Linked DNA regions of Homo sapiens: region 1 is linked to region 2. The links are contacts of gene promoters, found by promoter capture Hi-C in human tissues and cell types (Jung and others, 2019). All regions are on one chromosome and are shown on one strand. Each heading gives the region's core, a stretch centred on a gene start or on the middle of the fragment in contact. The rest is flanking DNA. Distances are from core to core; before and after follow the strand shown.

The links. Contacts are between HindIII fragments. The study calls those that stand out against the background at their distance.
Region 1: a fragment that was not itself captured here is called in contact with the fragment with the promoter of ATG2B in region 2 in 1 of the 25 tissues and cell types used here (mesendoderm cells).

What each region holds. Positions count from the first base shown.
Region 1 is chr14:96,822,370-96,826,276 of GRCh38, forward strand. The region is part of intron 1 of VRK1 (VRK serine/threonine kinase 1); the gene reads left to right. Among named protein-coding and RNA genes, the nearest start is that of VRK1, 27 kb to the left of the region's middle. The HindIII fragment of the contact is 4,580 bases long and covers 1-3,565 here.
Region 2 is chr14:96,361,708-96,365,718 of GRCh38, forward strand. It overlaps ATG2B (autophagy related 2B), which reads right to left and starts at 1,634. Exons shown (of 42, transcript NM_018036.7): 1 at 1,108-1,634. The coding sequence starts at 1,269. It overlaps GSKIP (GSK3B interacting protein), which reads left to right and starts at 1,819. Exons shown (of 4, transcript NM_016472.5): 1 at 1,819-1,861. RefSeq lists enhancers at 194-263, 1,505-1,799, 1,720-2,540 and a silencer at 1,742-2,091. The HindIII fragment of the contact is 16,004 bases long and covers 1-4,011 here.

The DNA of each region.
Region 1 (3,907 bases), core at 26-2,525, 460 kb after region 2:
GCATGGTAAAGTTTTTGTATTTCTTGTCAAAAAGTTGCAGACCATTCACTCTAATAGCACTACTAAATTACTGATATTTACATTAAAGGGAAAATAGGGTCTAGTCCTATTCTCTACTTTTTAGGCACAGAATTTGATTCATTGCAAAACCATTCCTATCGTGAGGTGACTTGTGACAGAGGCACTACAGAAGCACTTAACATTTTGGATTTGTATCAAGCTTATATAGTTTATAGATGGAATGTATTTTTAGAATGGACTAACACATTAGCAAAAAATATAACAAATGTAAAATCTTTGGTGAGAATTAAGTCAGCAGGAGAATTTTTCTTGACTTAGGTGTTCAGTGCATGATTTTCAATTTGATTGAAGTGTTGTGAACTACAATGCAAGTATACAGCAAGTTCCAAACCTTGTAGAAATCCATTTACCCTGTGGTGAAATTCAGAGTCCTGACAGTAGCCTTCAAGGCCCTACTTGATCTCTTGCTCCTGTGCTAACCTTTGGGACTTGATCTCCTGCTTCCCCCTTGCTCACGCCACACCAGCCACACTGGCATTCTTACTCTTTGGTTGCCAGGTGTGCTCCCACCTTAGGGTCTTTGCACAACTCGTCCCTCTGCCTATACTCTCTGCCCAGATACTCACATGGTCCTCTTCCTCAACTCCTTCAAGTCCTTGTTCCAATGAGCAAAGTCCTTTCAGAGGAGGCTGACCATGACCACTCTGTTTCACTGCAAGCTTTCCCCTTCTACCTTCTACTCCCTATCCTCTATCTCCCTTTACCTGCTTTATGTTTTTAAAACATGACTGGATTTTCTGAAATATTAGGTAACATATGCATTATTTGTTCTTTTTATCTGTCTCTTCCTGCCAGAATGTGTCAAAAGAGAAGGACCTTTGTTTTGTTCCTTGAGGTATAGCAAGTGCCTAGAACAGTGCTTGGCACATTGTAGATTATCAGTGACTATTTGTAGAGTGAGTGAATGAACAGACTATGTCATTACCCTTCATGAATTTACATAATCCACAGTTAACATTTATTTATTGCTGTGATAACTAGTAGATTTATGTAATTAGCATCTATAAGAATAACCTCTGAAAAAAATACCAATTGTAATGCTTTTCCAGTTGTGTGTGTATGGGGGCAGGAATGATTCTGTAGTCATCAGGAACACGTTGGTATTATCTTGATTCAACTTAATTTCTGCCTTTTTTATCTGCTGCATCTAGAAACTGTTTTCTTTTTTAAAAAATTGTGATAAGAAACATAGAAGATTTCCCATCTTAACCATTTTTAAGTGTACACAGTAGCGTTAAGTGTATTCATATTGTTGTGAAGCAGATCTCTAGAACTTAATTTGCAAATTCGAAACTCTATATACCACTAAACAACAACTCTCTTTTCTCCCTCCCTCCAGCCTCTGGCTTATTTCACTTAGCATAACTGTCCTCAAGATTCATCTGTGGTGTAGTGTGTGTCAGAATTTACTTCTATTTTTCAAGGCTGAATAATATTCCATTGTATATACATGCCACATTTATTCATTCATCTGTTAATGGACACTCAGGTTGCTTCCACCTTTTACTATTATTGTGGATAGTGCTGCTGTGCACATGGGTGTACAGATACCTCTTTGAGACTACAAACTTTTTCCTAGAGATCTGTTAACTTAAAGGAATAAACATCAATTATTTTTTCAAATAAATGTCCTGAATTTCCAAAGATCTTAATTTTATTGAGTAGCACATTTTTAAATATATAATTTATTTTCACATAATAAAATTTGTATTTTGGTGTAAGCTGTGGAAATGTAGGTGGTCTGCTTTTTTAACATGATAAAACCCTGGAAAACTGTATATGATAAAGTGGAACAAGCTCCCTGAATGAAAGCTCATTTCATCTTGAAAAAAGAATTTACTGTATTCCTCAAATTGCCTAGGACTGTGAGTAGCCTAAATGGTAGACTGGAATCCAGGATACTACTGTATTTTGAAAGCAAAAGGAAGAGAATGTTTCAAGAAAGAAAGAATGAGCAGTGTTGAGTGCTTCTGGGCAGGCAAATGAGATGATTCAGTGTCAGCTAGATTTCATAGCATGGAAGTCACTGGTGACCTCAGCAAGGGTTATTAGAGAGGAATCATGAAGGCGGATCTCGGAGTGAGTTGGATAAGTAGGTGAAAGGAAATATTGGCAAGTACAGACGATTATTGAAATGGCAAGTACAGACATTTGGCATTGAAAGGGAAAAGAAAGGATGATAGCAGAGATAGCAGAGGGGGATTAAAAACATTAATTTTTTTTTTTTTTTTTTCCCTCTGTCGCCCAGCCTGGAGTGCAGTGGCGCCGTCTCGGCTCACTGCAAGCTCTGCCTCCTGGGTTCACACCATTCTCCTGCCTCAGTCTCCCGAGTAGCTGGGACTACAGGCATCCACCACCACGCCTGGCTTATTTTTTGTATTTTTAGTAGAGACGGGATTTCACCATGTTAGCCAGGATGGTCTCGATCTCCTGACCTCGTGATCCACCCGCCTCGGCCTCCCAAAGTGCTGAGATTACAGGTGTGAGCCACCGCACCCGGCCAAAAACATTAATTTTTTAAAATGGCAGAGCCATAAGCATTTTTAATAGCTGATGGGAAGGATCTAGTTGAGGGAGACATTGAATATATTAGAGAAGGATTAATTAATAGTGTAAGTCTTGAGAAGGTTGGAGGGGATGGGATCCAAAGCAAAGGTGAAGGACTTGATGTTTGATAGGAGGAGGATAGTTTCTTTCAATGTGATAGGAGAGAAGGAAGCTAGGATTGGCTTGAAGTGGGTGCAGGTGGTTTGTAGGTGTGGCTCTTAGAAAGATAGGGAATTCCCATCTGAAGTTTCTGTTTTCTCTCTAAACTAGAGTAGGTCATCTGTTGATAATTATGGCTTAGGAAGGGGAATTAGAGTTTTGAGGAAGAATAAATAGAGTTTGACATAGTCATTGTAGAGGGTGGTTGCTGGACTTTTGAGGAATGACATTGTCCTTTGCAGTTGGGTGATGTATATTAAACATAAAGTTAGATATCTGGTAGTTGGGGAAAAATACTAAACTTTTTTGCTGTTTAATTTTATGGATTTAGTGAATTCCTGCTAACTACAATGTATTGTGACTAAGACATTTCTCATATACGAGGAGCTTATAAGCTTATAGGGAAAGTTATTTGTCACATGCAATAAGAGGTACAAACAGTACTGAAACTTCAGGTCATATCTGACTTCAGAAGAGATAGGTCTTTAGGTATGGGGAAAATGTCAATCAATGTATAAGGAGAGGTTAAATGAGAGAAAAGGCTTTGTGCTGGGAAGAATGGAGATAAAAATATGTTGGTTCCATGTTAATAGAATGGTGGAGTCCAGTTTGTCCAGAATTATCCTTGAATCAGAGTGTCTCTATACAGTGTAAAACATATCAGAGAAGTTTATGACTTTAAAGAAAATTTCATAAAAATACATGACCCCCTAAAGGAGTTTACATGCAGAACTATTTTGGGGAAAATTTATGAGTAGTCATTCAGTATATAACGAGCTTTATTCAGCATTGTAATTTTCCAGTTTGTGTATGATGAATTCATAGAGCTCATTAAGTGTAAGTGTCATTGTTGTGATTCATTCAAGCCTTTTTCCTCTCTTCAGCAGAAGGTTAAAAAAAAATTCCAAATTTGAATCCAGGACTTGAAGAATGCCAGTTGTCTAAATACAGTACCATATTGTGATAAATATAGCTATTGAAATTTTTAAAAATCTATTCACAAAACTTTATTTTAATATTCATAGCAGAACTTTTTTTGGAATGTTATCTGAAAAACAGAGGACCATTTTATCATCAGAGCTGACTATTAATTAGGGTATTGTTGCAGATATAAAAGTTG
Region 2 (4,011 bases), core at 384-2,883:
GGAGAGTCTCTCCAGGGGTAGGACTCTCACCTCCTGGTGAGCGACTGGGTCTTACTGCTCTCAAACCAGGGCTCTTTCCACTATCTTGTGTCCTCTCCCTAGTTTATGTCAGGTACATACTGATAAAATTATATACTGATTTATAGTCTCTAGCACAAATTCGCTTAAGGGTCATAATAAGGTATTTCCATAATTTAAGATTTTCTGTGGCTAAGGAAGTAAGGGTTGGGCAAAGGGTAGAAGTCACTCTATTCCTGTCAAACCCAAAAGTGAATATACTTTAAGTAAAATGCTATGCATTGAACACACAAATGCAGGTACGACTGCATGTGGTGAGTCGAAATTCAGATGAAGCACCTGTATAGCAATGAGTGAATTCACAGCCTCTAGATGACAAGTAGAAGGCAGGTTTTAAAATGTCTGAAAATTGCAACTTCAGCGCTTTTGCAACACCTGCTTTTACGATCTGTCACGTGGAGCAAAGAGGCATAACTCAACAGCACTACTAGGGCCAGACGACCATTCACAGGCTGGATACACAAACCTATCTTGTAAACATATAATCAAGCAAAAGCAGGCAAACCGGCACAAGAGGCCTTCACCTAACTTTCTTCCAGATGGCAAACGCTGCACGATGACAAACAAGGCAAACATGGTGCGCAAGCAGCCAACCCAAAACAAATAACTAGGGATTCTGACATCCAAAGGTCCTCTTCATCCTTAATCCTTCCAGAATGTCATCCCACAAGGCAGGGTTTGTTTGCCACAAAACCCTGCGGCCCCTCACATCCCGAGGGACAGTTCTGGTCACCTCCTCCCACGGACCTATTGAGCCTGCTTCACAGACCCCCGAAGCACTGACTCAATTATTCCCACAGTGTAGATTCCATTACATCTGTTAAAGTTTCCGGAACACGTGATTTAGGAGAGCAAACTTGTTAGAAACAGATTAAACAACACTCTAACACATTTCTCTGAGCCGTGTCACACTCGGGTCCAAACAATTCCCAAGGAGGGACTGACTGTCACCAATCTTGGATGGCACTGGTTCAAAGCGCCCTAAAGAGGGGAGCGAGCCCCGCCCGGCTCGCCGCCGGCAGCTCTTACCCATTTGTCCAAGGGGACCTGGGCGAGGGACCCGGTGCCTTGGTACAGGTCCAGGCTGAGCTGCTCCAGGCTCAGCTTCTCCTGCAGAAAGTGGCCCAGGTACCTCTGCAGGAGGTACCGGCAGGCCCTCTTCTTGATGGACTCCGAAAACGGCCAAGGCATAGTGACTGCTGGCAGCTGGGCTGACTGCGGCTGCGGGTTGCGACGGCTCCGGCCTCGGGGTAGCGACTCCGGCTCCAGGCCGCGGCGGGGCCTAAGCCTGGGGCGGCCCCTCCATCCCTATTTGGTGCCGGGAGTCCCTCAGGGAGACCCCATCGCCGGCGCCGCACCGCTCGCGCTGGGCCTGGCGGAGGCAAGACGCAGAGGGGTCCTCCTGGCCCCAGGCCAGGGGACTTCCGAGGAGGGTCCCAACCGGCTCGGAGAGAGTGCAAGAGAGCGCGAGAGGAGGCGGCAGGGGCTGAGGCAGCCACCGCCACTGCCGCCGCGCGACGAATTTGTTGTCATCCGCGAGGCGCGTTCCCGGCTGTAGGGACGCTCCTGGCGCGTTCACGAGACCCAGACTCCCGGCGCGCCGCCGGGCGCTGGCGGAAGTGACGCCACACTGGGGCCGCGGAAGGCGGGCAGAAGGGCGGGGGCTGGAGCAGTTCCGGCTCCGAGGGGGCGGGGCGGAAGAAGGCGGGGAGGGAGGGGGCGGCACCGCCGGTCGGCTCCAGTCGCCTCCGGAGGAAGGAAGAAGAGGACGCCGGGCGCGCAGGTGAGCGGCAGCCGGGGTGGCTGCGGGCGAGGGGCGGCCCCCGAGAAGGGCTAGGGGCTCGGGGCGCCGGCGGGCCGTCAGGCCTTCCGGATGGGGACGCGACGCCATGCAGCTGGCTGGGCCGAGAGGGGCGGCAGGCTGCAGGGGCCCCGCGCCCGTGTTAAGAGGGGTCTGGGGGCCGGTCTGGCCGGCCTGGCTCTCCCGGCTCCCCTCAGACCTCGGCGCCCCGGAAACGCACACTTGGGGCTCCGCCGTCTCCGCTGGGAGGACTGGAGCCCTTCTCGAGCATCCCCGCCCGCACCCGAGCATTGACCGGTGCCCATTGTCAGCAAGTTCTTCGGCCCCCGCCTCATTCAGGTATTGTTTCTGAGGCAGCTTCTTCGTTGCCGTTTGCCTGGCGGTTTGCAGAGCGCTTCTCGCATACGCTCGCTTAATCCTGGGTGTGTCATAGCAACGATCAGGAAACTTGGGTTTTCGAAGCATCTGTGGGCAAAACTGCATTCCTTGAGAAATGCTAAAGGCTCCTGACCCCGCCGGAACCTGGGTGAAGAACTTGGGCTGTTCTGGCAGTCTGCGCAATCGTATTTCTGCCTTTTGGGAGGTAACTCCTGCAGAGGCGGAGCCGGCTGTTAAGTTAAGTCAACCTCGAAAGGCCTGGGTGCGGGTGTTCTATGGCCCAGAAGCCAGATGTCCTTCGTTAGAATCCCGGCACTGACACCTATTAGCCGCCCAGCCACTTTGAGCGGCCACTGCCCTCCCCGAGCCCACGTTGCCTCCTTTGCCGAGTGTGAGCGGATTAAAATCTTATGTGCATGGATTTGTTGGGAAGATTAAATGATATGAGTAGGGCACGAACCTGAACAGAGTCCTGAAACATACAGCTGTTTAATCACAGTGAATTAAGACGACCAGTTTAAGGAGTGAAATGTTTACTGTCTCGGCAACTTTCATGAATGCCTTGGAAATACAGCCCAAAATATTGGTAGATGGAGAAACATCTGGTTCCCCTTTCCACAACCACCTTTTCGTTTTAGAACCAGGGTACTTTGTATGCAGTTGCTTGGATTGTTGATTTCCCTCATTCTTTGTAGACTCATCTCAAGTATTCTCAGTAACTTAGATTCCCTTGCTCTTCATTCAGAAATATTTGTTAAGGTCCATTAAATGAAAGTCACCACAGTTGATCATGTGAACAGTGTCAAGAATCAGGCCGAACCTTCAAGGAGTTTATGTTCTAAAACGGAAGCATGGTGGTACCTGCTTGTGGAGGCTGAGGCGGAAGGATCGCTTGAGCCCAGGACTTTGAGGCTGCATAATTGCATTGACGCTATCCATAGAGTGCCTGCAATTTCAAATATCAGAAAGGATCGTACGAGCTATGATCATGCCACTGCACTCCAGCCTGAACCACAGAGCAAGACCCTTTCTCTCAATAAAGTGGAAGTTTGTTCATTTATTCAGTAAATATTTATTGATTGCCTTCTGTGTGCCAAGCACTGTTCTAGGTACTGGGATTACAGCAGTGAACAGATAAATCTCTTCCTTCCTGGAACTTACATTTTATTGAAGGGAGGAGACATACAATAAATGAGTGAATAATATGCTTTGTGGTGATAAGGGCTGTTGGAAAAACGAAAGCAATGTAAAGGGAGTGGAGATGGGGAAGAGAGAAGGGACTTGCCATTTTTATATGAGATGGTAAGAGAAATTCTCTTGTTTAATAAGATTACATTTTAGCAGAAACTTGGAGAAAGCTGGGAAGTGAGGCACATGTATACCTGGAAGAGTTGTTTTCCATGCAAGGGGAACAGCAAGTGCAACGCCCTGTCACGGGAGAATGCTTGATGAATTTAGGGAACATCAAGAGTGAGTGAAGGAAAAAGTAGAAGCTGGGCAGTTTGGGGGTGGGGGGTGGGGCGGGCGGGGCGCAGAGGAAGCACATCATGTAGGGCCTCGTAGGCCATTGATAAGAACTTTGGAGCCGGGCACAGTGGCTCACTCCTGTAATCCCAGAACTTTTGGGAGGCCGAGGTGGGCGGATCACTTGAGGTCAGGAGTTCAAGACTAGCATGGCCAACATGGTGAAACCCTGTCTTTACCAAAAATATATAAAAAATCAGTCAGGTGTGATGGCGTGCACCTGTAATCCC